Linked DNA regions of Homo sapiens: regions 1 and 2 are each linked to region 3. The links are contacts of gene promoters, found by promoter capture Hi-C in blood cells and fetal thymus (Javierre and others, 2016). All regions are on one chromosome and are shown on one strand. Each heading gives the region's core, a stretch centred on a gene start or on the middle of the fragment in contact. The rest is flanking DNA. Distances are from core to core; before and after follow the strand shown.

Region 1 (3,079 bases), core at 277-2,776, 270 kb before region 3:
AGAGGGTATTCAAACTTATCCTCAGCCCAGAGAACAGAAAAGGCCTAGGTGCTCTGCTCTTAAAATCCTACCTTGGCAGCCAGGCGCGGTGGCTGACACCCGTAATCCCAGCACTTTGGGAAGCCGAGGTGAGTGGATCACGAGATCAGGAGTTCAAGACCAGCCTGACCAACATGGTGAAACCCCATCTCTACTAAAAATACAAAAATTAGCCGGGCGTAGTGGCATGTGCCTGTAATCTCAGCTACTCAGGAGGCTGAGGCAGGAGAATCGCTTGAACCTGGGAGGCGGAGGTTGCAGTGAGCCGAGATCGCACCACTGCACTCCAGCCTGGGCGACAGAGTGAGACTCCGTCTCAAACAAACAAACAAAAATCCTATCCTGATTCCTAAAGATTCGCTTCAAGTCCCAGGAAAATGGGTGTTAAGTGTCTCCACCCCCAGGATCTTCACTGGTGGAATCTCCTTACCTGACTAGGAGTGAGACCAGCAATTTCAGGTGTCCCTGTCCCTGGCGCATAGGCAGGATCCAGAGCGTCAATATCAAAGCTGATATAAATGGGTTTGCCTCCCATCTGCTGCCTGACTTCCCCCATCAGAGGAACCAGCGACTTCATCCAGCAGTCTTCAGCCAGGACTACCCGGAAGCCCTGCAGAGACAGGGACTGAGGTTTCTGTCTGGCAGCATTTACAGGGCATTTCCTGTTTGCCAGCCCCATGCTCAGCTCTGTGTGCACATGACACTTGACCCTCCATCTCCATGAAGAGGGAACTATCCTATTTTACAGGTGAGGAAGGGAGGGACAATGAGTGGTAAGGAAGCAGGGTCAAAGCTGACTGATGGAGTTGGAATCAGAGAGAAGCTTTGCTAAAGCAAGAGTGGGAAACAGCAGCTCACGCTAGCACCTTTTGAATTGCTCTGTCCAGAAGACTGGCCTTGGCACGCTCTAAAAGCAAGGGATTTGGGTCTGTTCCATTGGGGTCTTGTCATACACGTCTATCTGAGAGCCATTCTGCCTAGAGGGTACGAGGACCAGAACTAAGAAGGTGGCAACTCATCTTGGGTCCGGACTTCCTCCCCTCTTTTTTTTTTCTTTTGAGATGGAGTCTCACTTTGTCACCTAGGCTAGAGTGCAGTGGCGCGATCTCAGCTCACTGCAACCTCCACCTCCCACGTTCAAGCAATTCTCCTGCCTCAGTCTCCCGAGTAGCTGGGATTACAGGTGCGCACCGCCACACCTGGCTAATTTTTGTATTTTTAGGAGAGACGGGGTTTCACCATGTTGGCCAGGCTGGTCTCGAACTCCTGACCTCAGGTGATCCACCCACCTTAGCCTCCCAAAGTGCTGGGATTACAGGTGTGAGCCACTGTGCCCGGCCTCCTCCCCTCTTCTAAGCCAGCACCGTCCGAGGGGTTGGTCGATTTCTGCTTGTCTCCCCCGCCCAGCGATAGACTTCCCATGGCCCATAAACCAACTTCCTCACTCCTATGCTCCTTATGCCCCTGATGATGCAAACTCAGCCTTGTATCCCTGCTTCAGACTTGATTAGTAAAGCCCCCGCTCAATCCCTGGCTGCCACTGGTGAGGCAACGGAGAGGAAGACATTTTGAGGGGCAAGGGTGGGGGGCATTCGGTCTGTCACCTGGCTCCGGTTGTATCTGTAGGGATCCAAGGTCGTGGAAGAGCCCCGGATGCCAATCTGCACCACACGCTTACAGTCCAGGAGACCCTCATCCACACACCGGCGGAAGGGCGCCCCGTGGTAGAGCTTCTCTCCTAGGGCCTTGTCGGTCGTGTCCGTGTGCGCATCCACGTGCAGCAGCCCCACTGGGCCATGCCTGATGACAACAGGGCAGCTCAGAGGCCAACCCTCCCTGTGGGGCCCTAGCACAGCCACCCTTCGGGCCACCAAAACTTGGTGACAATTCACAGCCAAAAAGGGGAGACCTGGCATCCGTTTTCTGCCTTGCAACTGGTTCCTGTCTTCTTGAGATCACTTTGCATCTCAGAGGAACAATAAACTCACAGAAGTCAGGCAGGAAATAGACATGTTTTGGCTGCCACCCACACCTATCACCCAGAATTTGCTTCACTTAGAGACAGGATGAGAATCAAGGGTGGTGGCACAGGGGAGCTTGGCTGAAGGCTTAACTAAACCAAGACACACCCTTTCTCCAACCGAGGAAGAGGAAGCTTTAATCCAGCTCTCTCCATAACCTCCATCAACCCCTGCCAGCCACCCAAAATAAACATCTGATCCAAATCCGTGAGGAATAAATGCAGCTTTGAGCAAAGACCTGCACCCTCCCACCTCCAACCAGAATGCCACCCACATGTGCTTCCACAGACACATTCTGGAGCTGCCACCCTCCACCCGGGTCCTTCTGTCTCTTTCTCAAACTAAATTAGCCAAAGTCGGCCAATCCTGGGTAGACTTCCACTACTGGCAAATCAGTCTTTTGATTGAGAAAGGTGCCCTTTCAGGAGGAAACAAGGGCCTCTCAGCAAGGTCCACCATTGTGCCTGTCAGTGTTTGTTTTTGGCCATTGAAGCAAAACAGAAACTGAAGTTAACTGAGGTTGTGTATTTCACTAGAGGCTCATCTTCCAAAAACAGAAGCAAGTTGAAAATGCTGAGCACACATACCAGGAGAGATCTAGGGCAAGGGAGGGTGGCCAGAACTGTTAATAATAAATTGTCTTGGCTTCTAGCTGCTGACTGACAGAGACACCTGGAGCTCAACCTTAATTTTGATCCCCAGAAGCAGCTCATAACCTGAGCCAGCAGCAGTCACCTAATGCCACCAAACAGCAAATAACTCATTCCCTAGCTTCTGGCTTTTGAAATCTTGCTGGGCCCAAGCCATTTGAGACTTACTTTTTTGCCATCGCTTGCAATATGGGATATGTGATTGTGTGATCTCCACCTGCAAAGAGGAAGAAGAAAACATCTGGAAAGTGAATTGGAGGATTACATAGAATAATCTTTTTTTTTTTTTTTTTTTTTTGAGATGTAGTTTTGCTCTGTTGTCCAGGCTGGAGTTCAATGGCACAATCTCGGCTCACTGCAACCTCTGCC
Region 2 (3,213 bases), core at 515-3,014, 360 kb after region 3:
AGAAGAGGACCCAGCGAGAGATGGCTGGGTCTATGGCAGGCCCCAGTCTCTCTGCACAGCTTCTCAACTGCTTCCCCCTGCTCCCTTCACCCTGCTGTCTGGGAGGGTGGGAAGAAGGGGACTGGCTGCTCCAAAGGGGTCCTCTCTACGGTGGCCACTCTGGCTTGTACCATCAGCCTCTGTCCCTCTAGCCTGAAAAGTACCCATCTGAGCGAGTCTCCCTAAGCCTCGGTCTCCTCATCCGGCAAATAGGATAGTATTTTTATTATCATCAGTCTTTCTCTAGACAGAAGGCAGCTCAGGCCTTCACACAGATGGGGAAGATGAAGGAGTGAGGCTGAGACACACATTATATCGCAGGAGTGTGCACAAGGAGGCCCCTGCCCACAGACGGGTCTCTTTCTCTGCAGGAATCAGAAGTCCTCGACACAGAAGTCCCACTTGCTTCTGGGGGCACACATGTGCAGGCATGTACACATGCCCCCTGCCCCTTTGTATGCTGGGAGATTCTAGCACTTGGGTTCTGGAAGCTCCTGGAGGGCAGGGAGGGACCCTCTCTCCCATGGCTCACAGGGATAAGTAGGCAAAACATTGAGGCTTTGCAGCAGGAGCACCCCCAGTTAAGGCTGCAGAGGAGAAGGCTAGGTGAATGTGGGGAGAGGGGACATAGAAGGCTTCCCGGGGAGATGAAGCTGGAGGCAGGTCCCTAGCAGGGAAGAAGTCAGGAGTGTGTCAGCCTCCACCTATGCTCAAGCCAAGGGGTAATAAGAATGACCCATCTAGCTGGGATGCCAGCCCTGTGGCCCTCCAGGGGTTTGGCCCACCCAACCTCAATGCTGGGGAGCTAAGAGGGACAAGCTGTGTTCATATTGTGTGTAGCTCATCTCTGTTAGAAAAAAACAAACAAAAACCTCAGAAAGAGAACTGGCCCCAGACAGCAGGGACATTACCTTCCCAAGGCACGATCACAGGATAGAGACTCTTGTGTCTACTAGGCAAGGGCCACTCTGGAGCCCAAAAAGAATAACCTCCGCCCAAGCTTTGAGGCCCAGTGTTGACACTGACCAGCTGTGTGGCCTTAGGCAATTCACAGCCCATCCCTTGGCCTCAGTATTCCCATCTGTAAAGTGGCTCCTAAGGGACCGCACCACCGCCCAATGCCCTCTCTAAGAAACATGTCTCATCATAAATGTCTCTGGGCCAAGAAGGATGGGCAGGGGCCGAGGAAAGTACCCTTGGTGGGTGCTGCTAATTACAGAAGACGATGGGCCCACTTAGCAAGGCTGCCAGAGAGTCCCTGGACACTACCATGATCAGAAAAAGTGTTTCTGGCCTCCTGTACCTAGCTTTTCCCTGCCCCCTCCCGGGTGCCCCTTGCCTTGCTGCCCAGGAGAGCTGGTACCCTGCCAGAGCCTCTCTGCCCTTTAAGGAATAAAGCCAGGTGGGAAGTCATGGCTGGAAAGTGGATCCAGGCCAAGTGGTTCACAGAGCCCCAGAAGGCCATAGTGGGTCAGAGCCAGGATCAGAGACCAGGCGGGCAGCACAAAGGGCTCACTCAGCGGGGAAAACTGGCGGGAAGAGAATGGGACTGCTGGCACCCAGGTGGGGCCCTACCTCAGCCAGGGAGCTCCGTCCAGCTGCCAGCACGGTCCAGGGCTCCGGGACACCCTGGGGGCTCTGGGGTTGCAGCCAAGTCCTCAGGGGGCGATGTCAGCATGTCAGCATGGCCCCAGAGCCGAGCAAGGCAAGCTCCTGGGTATTGTGTGGGGCAGGGAGGGGGAGGTGAAGGAGGAGGGAACCTTGCAGAGAGAGGCAGGCGGCTGTCTCAACGTGCCTGCTCCCCGCCCCCCTTCCCCAGAACCGGTTTGGCTAGTCTGGGGTACAAGAGGGGGGCTGGAACAATGGGAGTCCTATGCCCAAGTGAGGCTCTGAAGGACCCTACACCCAGGTCCTAAAGACGGGGGAGGCAGTGCTTCTGCTCCTAGGAGACAGGTCACCACTCTTCTGGAGCTTCCCAAACATGAGCATGCTCAGGGGACTTCTTGGAGCTGGGGAGCATCCTGGGAGCTTCACAGAGAGCCTCCCAAGCCCTGCACTCCTTAGGGACCCTGAGAACCCTGATGACCCTCTCTGATCCTATTACTACATCTATCAAATTGGAACACTCATCCCTATGATTGGGAGACAGAAATCAGTCCTGAAAGTTGATGATGTGACATGTGGCATCATCCTGGACAGCCTCTCCTCATCTAGTACAGCCACTGCTTGCAAATCCCCATCCTTTCCCACGGCCTGGAATGACCTGCCCCACCATCTCCAGTGGCCGCCTCCACCATGAAGCCTTCCCAGACTATACCAATTGAGCCCTCAATAAACCAAGCCAAATAGCCAAGTCAAACTGCCTCCAATAAGAAGGGCATGCTCTATGCCCGGCATGCAATCTTCCCAACCCTGTGGAATGGGAAGCTGCATTTTCCCCTAATTCTACCTGCCATCTGTTTGAGCTACCAGCAATTGCCAGGCACCTAATATTAATATGCAGATGTGTACACAGACTAATAGTCATGAAGCTAACTTATTGTTCACCTACTAGGTGCCAGGCACTGTCCTGAGCACTTCACATGTATTTACTCATTTAATCTCCACCATGACCCTGTCAGGTAGATACTGCTACCACTTATCAGGTGAGTACAGTTGTCCCTTGGTACCCAGAATCTGTGGGGAATTGGTTCTAGAACCCTCCCATACGAAAATCCATGGCTGCTCCAGTCCCTTATACAAAATGTCATAGTGTTTGCTATAACCTTTGTACATCCTCCAGTAAATTTTATTTTATTTTATTTTATTTATTTATTTATTTATTTATTTATTTATTTATTTATTTATTTTTAAGATGGAGTCTTGCTCTGTCACCCAGGCTGGAGCAAGTGGTGGGATCTCAGCTCACCGCAACCTTTGCCTCCCAGGTTCAAGCAATTCTTCTGCCTCAGCCTCCCCAGTAGCTGGGATTACAGGCGCATGCCACCACACCCTACTAATTTTTTTTGTTTCTAGTCAAGACAGGGTTTCACCATGTTGGCCAGGCTGGTTTTTGAACTCCTGACCTTAAGTGATCCACCCGCCTCAACCTCCCGAAGTGCTGGGATTATAGACGTGAGCCACCGCACCCAGTCTATTTTATGTATTTATTGTCAAAAAATAAAATAAAATGTC
Region 3 (3,322 bases), core at 670-3,169:
GTAAGCAGAGATGGTACCACTTCACTCCAGCCTGGTGACAGAGTGAGACTGCGTCTCCAAAAAAAAAAAAAAAAAAAAAAAAAAAATCTGGCTTGCACCTGAAGCAGCACACCTCTGGTATTTCTGTGTATTTTTATTATAAATAATTTTATTTTTCTCTCGATATAGTTACCTTAATTTTATGGGTTTTCCTTGAATTTCTGTAAATTGGCCTTTATATAAAAGTTCAACTGGCCGGGCATGGTGGCTCACGCCTGTAATCCCAGCACTTTGGGAGGCCAAGGTGGGCAGATCACCTGAGGTCAGGAGTTCAAGACCAGCCTGGCCAACATGGTGAAACCCCGTCTTTACTAAGAATACAAAAAACTAGCCTGGTGTGGTGGTGCGCGCCTGTAATTCCAGCTACTCGGAAGGCTGACGCAGGAGAATCGCTTGAACCTGGGAGGCGGAGGTTGCAGTGAGCTGAGACAGCGCCATTGTGCCCCAGCTTGGCTAACAAGAGTGAAACTTGGTCTCAGGAAAAAAAAAAAAAAAGAGGCTGGGCGTGGTGGCTCAAGCCTGTAATCCCAGCACTTTGGGAGGCTTGAGGCGGGTGGATTACCTGAGGTTGTGAGTTCGAGGCCAGCTTGACCAACACAGAGAAACTGTCTCTACTAAAAATACAAAAATTAGCCGGGCATGGTGGCGCATGCCTGTAATCCCAGCTACTCAGGAGGCTGAAGCAGGAGAATCGCTTGAACCCAGGAGACAGAGGTTGCAGTAAGCCGAGAACACACCATTGCACTCCAGCCTGGGCAACAAAAGCAAAACTCCGTCTCAAAGGAAAAAAAAAAAAAAAGAAAGTTCAACTGTAGGTTTCAAAAGCTCTTAGGCCTGGAAAGGCCAGAGGTCTAATTCCTTTCTCTGTTTAAATATTAAATTATGGTCTGAGGGGAACAATATTGGATTCCTGTCTCATTTCCGTTTTATTCCTTCTATACCACAGCGATCAGCAAGGGTATCTTGCAAACGGTTTCGCAAGATTCTATATAAAAAAGTTGCTTAGGCCAGGTGCAGTGACTCCCGCCTGTACTCCCAGTACTTTAGGAGGCCGAGGCGGGCGGATCACCTGAGGTCAGGAGTTCAAGACCAGCCTGGCCTACATGGTGAAACCCTGTCTCTAATAAAAATACAAAAATTAGCCAGGTGTGGTTGCGGGTGCTTGTAATCCCAGCTACTTGGGAGGCTGAGGCAGGAGAATCGCTTGAGTCTGGGAGGCGGAGATTGCAGTGAGCCGAGACCGTGCCACTGCACTCCAGCAGCCTGGGCAACAGAGCGAGACCCCGTATTAAAAAAAAAAAAGTTGCTTCATGTTACAAGCCAGTGACTCTTGGATGGGATGCGTTTCTGAAGCCGTCGCTGTTCAGCAGAGCGGTGAGAAGGGCAACCTTTTTCTGATCGCTTTCCCAAGCAGGCAGGAATCTAAGTGTCCGGAAACGCCAGGAGCTGGCCGCCAGGTGAGCGGAGGACGAAGGGGTCCTGACTTCTAGGGGACAGGCCTTGGCAGCCGCTTTGACCCGTAGCCCTGTGGAAACCAATTGCATTTCTCTTCATATCTTCCACCAGGCCGGGGCCTGGGGTTGCCGCTGGAGGGGCTAAAGACCGCTCCTGCTTCCTCAGCCGCCCCTTGCCCGGCGCGGGAACCCGACCGAGAGCCCGCCAAGCAGCGGGACTCCACTAGCAGCTGCGCGCCTGCGCACCGGGGCCGAGCGCGCGAGCGTTCCTTCCCCGCCTGTAGTCCCTCACTTCGTCGCCCGGTCCGCGCGCCTGCGCGCCGGCTGGGAGGAACTCAGCTTCTCCGCCTTGGCAGGCGGGAGGACGCGCGCGCGCCCGCGGCGAGGGGGAGGCAGTGCGGCGGCGGGAGTCGGGCCGCGCGCGCCAGTGGGAAGCGTCCGGCTGCCACAGCGCCAGCTCCGTCGTAGTCGCTGCCGCCCGTGTCCCGCTCGCCCCTCCTCCCGCTCCCCCGCCCGCCCCTGCCCGGGCGCATGCGCTGCCGGAGCGCGAGGGTCGGCTTCGGGTGTGTGGTGGCGGCAGAGCTGAGCTGCGAGGCCCGAGAGTCAGAACCTGGGGGAGAGGGATGGTCTCTGCACGGGGGGGAGCCGGAGGAGCCGCCGCCGCTGCCGACGCCACCGCCGCAGCCGCCGCCGCCGCCGCCCCGGCACCCGCCTCCCGGCGCTGACGGTCTCGTACGAAGCCGGCGAGGGGGAGCCAGCAGCGGCGGTCGCCGGCACGCCGCCCAGCATGGTCCGGGAAACCAGGCATCTCTGGGTGGGCAACTTACCCGAGAACGTGCGGGAAGAGAAGATCATCGAGCATTTCAAACGGTGAGTGACACGAGGCCCGCGGCCGCGCTCGCTCCTCGGGCGCCGCTTCCCGCCCCGGCCCGTTGCCGGCCCCTCCCGGAGCGCGGAGCTGGTGAGGAGGACTCCGGCCCGGACCCACGGGCGCTGTGGGACCTCGTCAGCCGCTCGGCCCGCGTCGCGGCGTTGGGCCTCGGGTGTCGGCGGTGCGGGCGGCCAAGCCGCGCCGCCTTCGAAGAGCCCGCGGGGCCCCGGCGGCCGCGTCCGTGACGAGGGAGGTGACCGAGGCTCGGCCTCCACGCAGCCGGCGCCCCGGGGCTGCCCTCGCGTCAGCCCGGGAGTCGGTGGGAGATGCGCTGGGCGGCGGGGTCGCGTCCTTGCGCGCAGTGCCCGGCCCGGAGCAGCCGGGACCCGAGCCCGCCCGACAGCCGGGTCCGGCGCCGCCACTCCAAGCTGCTCTGCGGGCGCTCGGCAATGTCTGACTTCGGGAGGGTTCCGTGCGAAGGGAAAGGCGGTGCGAAAACAGAAGTCGCAGTAGGTACTGTGGTCGCGTCGCGGACCCGGAGAGACCATCTAGGACCTCTCCGGAGGATTTGCAGCCTTGAAACTCACTGGGAATGGCAAACGTTTCTCGTTTTTGCGGGGCTGGGTGGAGAGTGGTGTGAAATAAGTTGGTGCGCCCGTTTGGGCTTCCTCGTCCCCGGCGGAGGAGACCGCGTCTGACAGGAGGTTGCTAGCCCCGGCGCCCGTAGCCTCGGGTCGCACTCCCAGGCCGCCCTAAGACCCTGGTGCCCCCCACCCCTGAATTCCCGAATCAAACGGTAAAACATTCCAAACCTTTTACGATGAGAAGATGTAGCTTAAAAAAAAAACCTCCCCTGAATATTTTTGTGAATTATAAGAATAAATGTTGTCGTTGATACATCTTATTGAGTAGCGTGTAGTGCGTTTTCTTTGTGAAATGCCTGTGTACCGTAACAGAT

The links. Contacts are between HindIII fragments. The CHiCAGO score rates a contact against its expected background, and 5 or more counts as called.
Region 1: a fragment that was not itself captured here is called in contact with the fragment with the promoter of SPEN in region 3 in 1 of 17 cell types (non-activated CD4 T cells); the score reaches 5.8 in non-activated CD4 T cells.
Region 2: the fragment with the promoter of ARHGEF19 here is called in contact with the fragment with the promoter of SPEN in region 3 in 1 of 17 cell types (activated CD4 T cells); the score reaches 5.2 in activated CD4 T cells.

Annotation. Positions count from the first base shown.
Region 1 is chr1:15,577,216-15,580,294 of GRCh38, forward strand. It overlaps AGMAT (agmatinase (putative)), which reads right to left. Exons shown (of 7, transcript NM_024758.5): 3 at 2,879-2,927; 4 at 1,644-1,839; 5 at 470-649. Among named protein-coding and RNA genes, the nearest start is that of AGMAT, 6.3 kb to the right of the region's middle. The HindIII fragment of the contact is 1,332 bases long and covers 861-2,192 here.
Region 2 is chr1:16,210,888-16,214,100 of GRCh38, forward strand. ARHGEF19 (Rho guanine nucleotide exchange factor 19) reads right to left here and starts at 1,765. Exons shown (of 16, transcript NM_153213.5): 1 at 1,615-1,765. RefSeq lists an enhancer at 1,569-2,267. The HindIII fragment of the contact is 4,473 bases long and covers 1,038-3,213 here.
Region 3 is chr1:15,845,788-15,849,109 of GRCh38, forward strand. It overlaps SPEN (spen family transcriptional repressor), which reads left to right and starts at 1,920. Exons shown (of 15, transcript NM_015001.3): 1 at 1,920-2,363. The coding sequence starts at 2,281. SPEN-AS1 (SPEN antisense RNA 1) reads right to left here and starts at 2,360. Exons shown (of 2, transcript NR_024279.1): 1 at 2,321-2,360. RefSeq lists enhancers at 1,050-1,562, 1,563-2,074 and silencers at 1,657-2,226, 2,407-2,826. The HindIII fragment of the contact is 15,488 bases long and covers 1-3,322 here.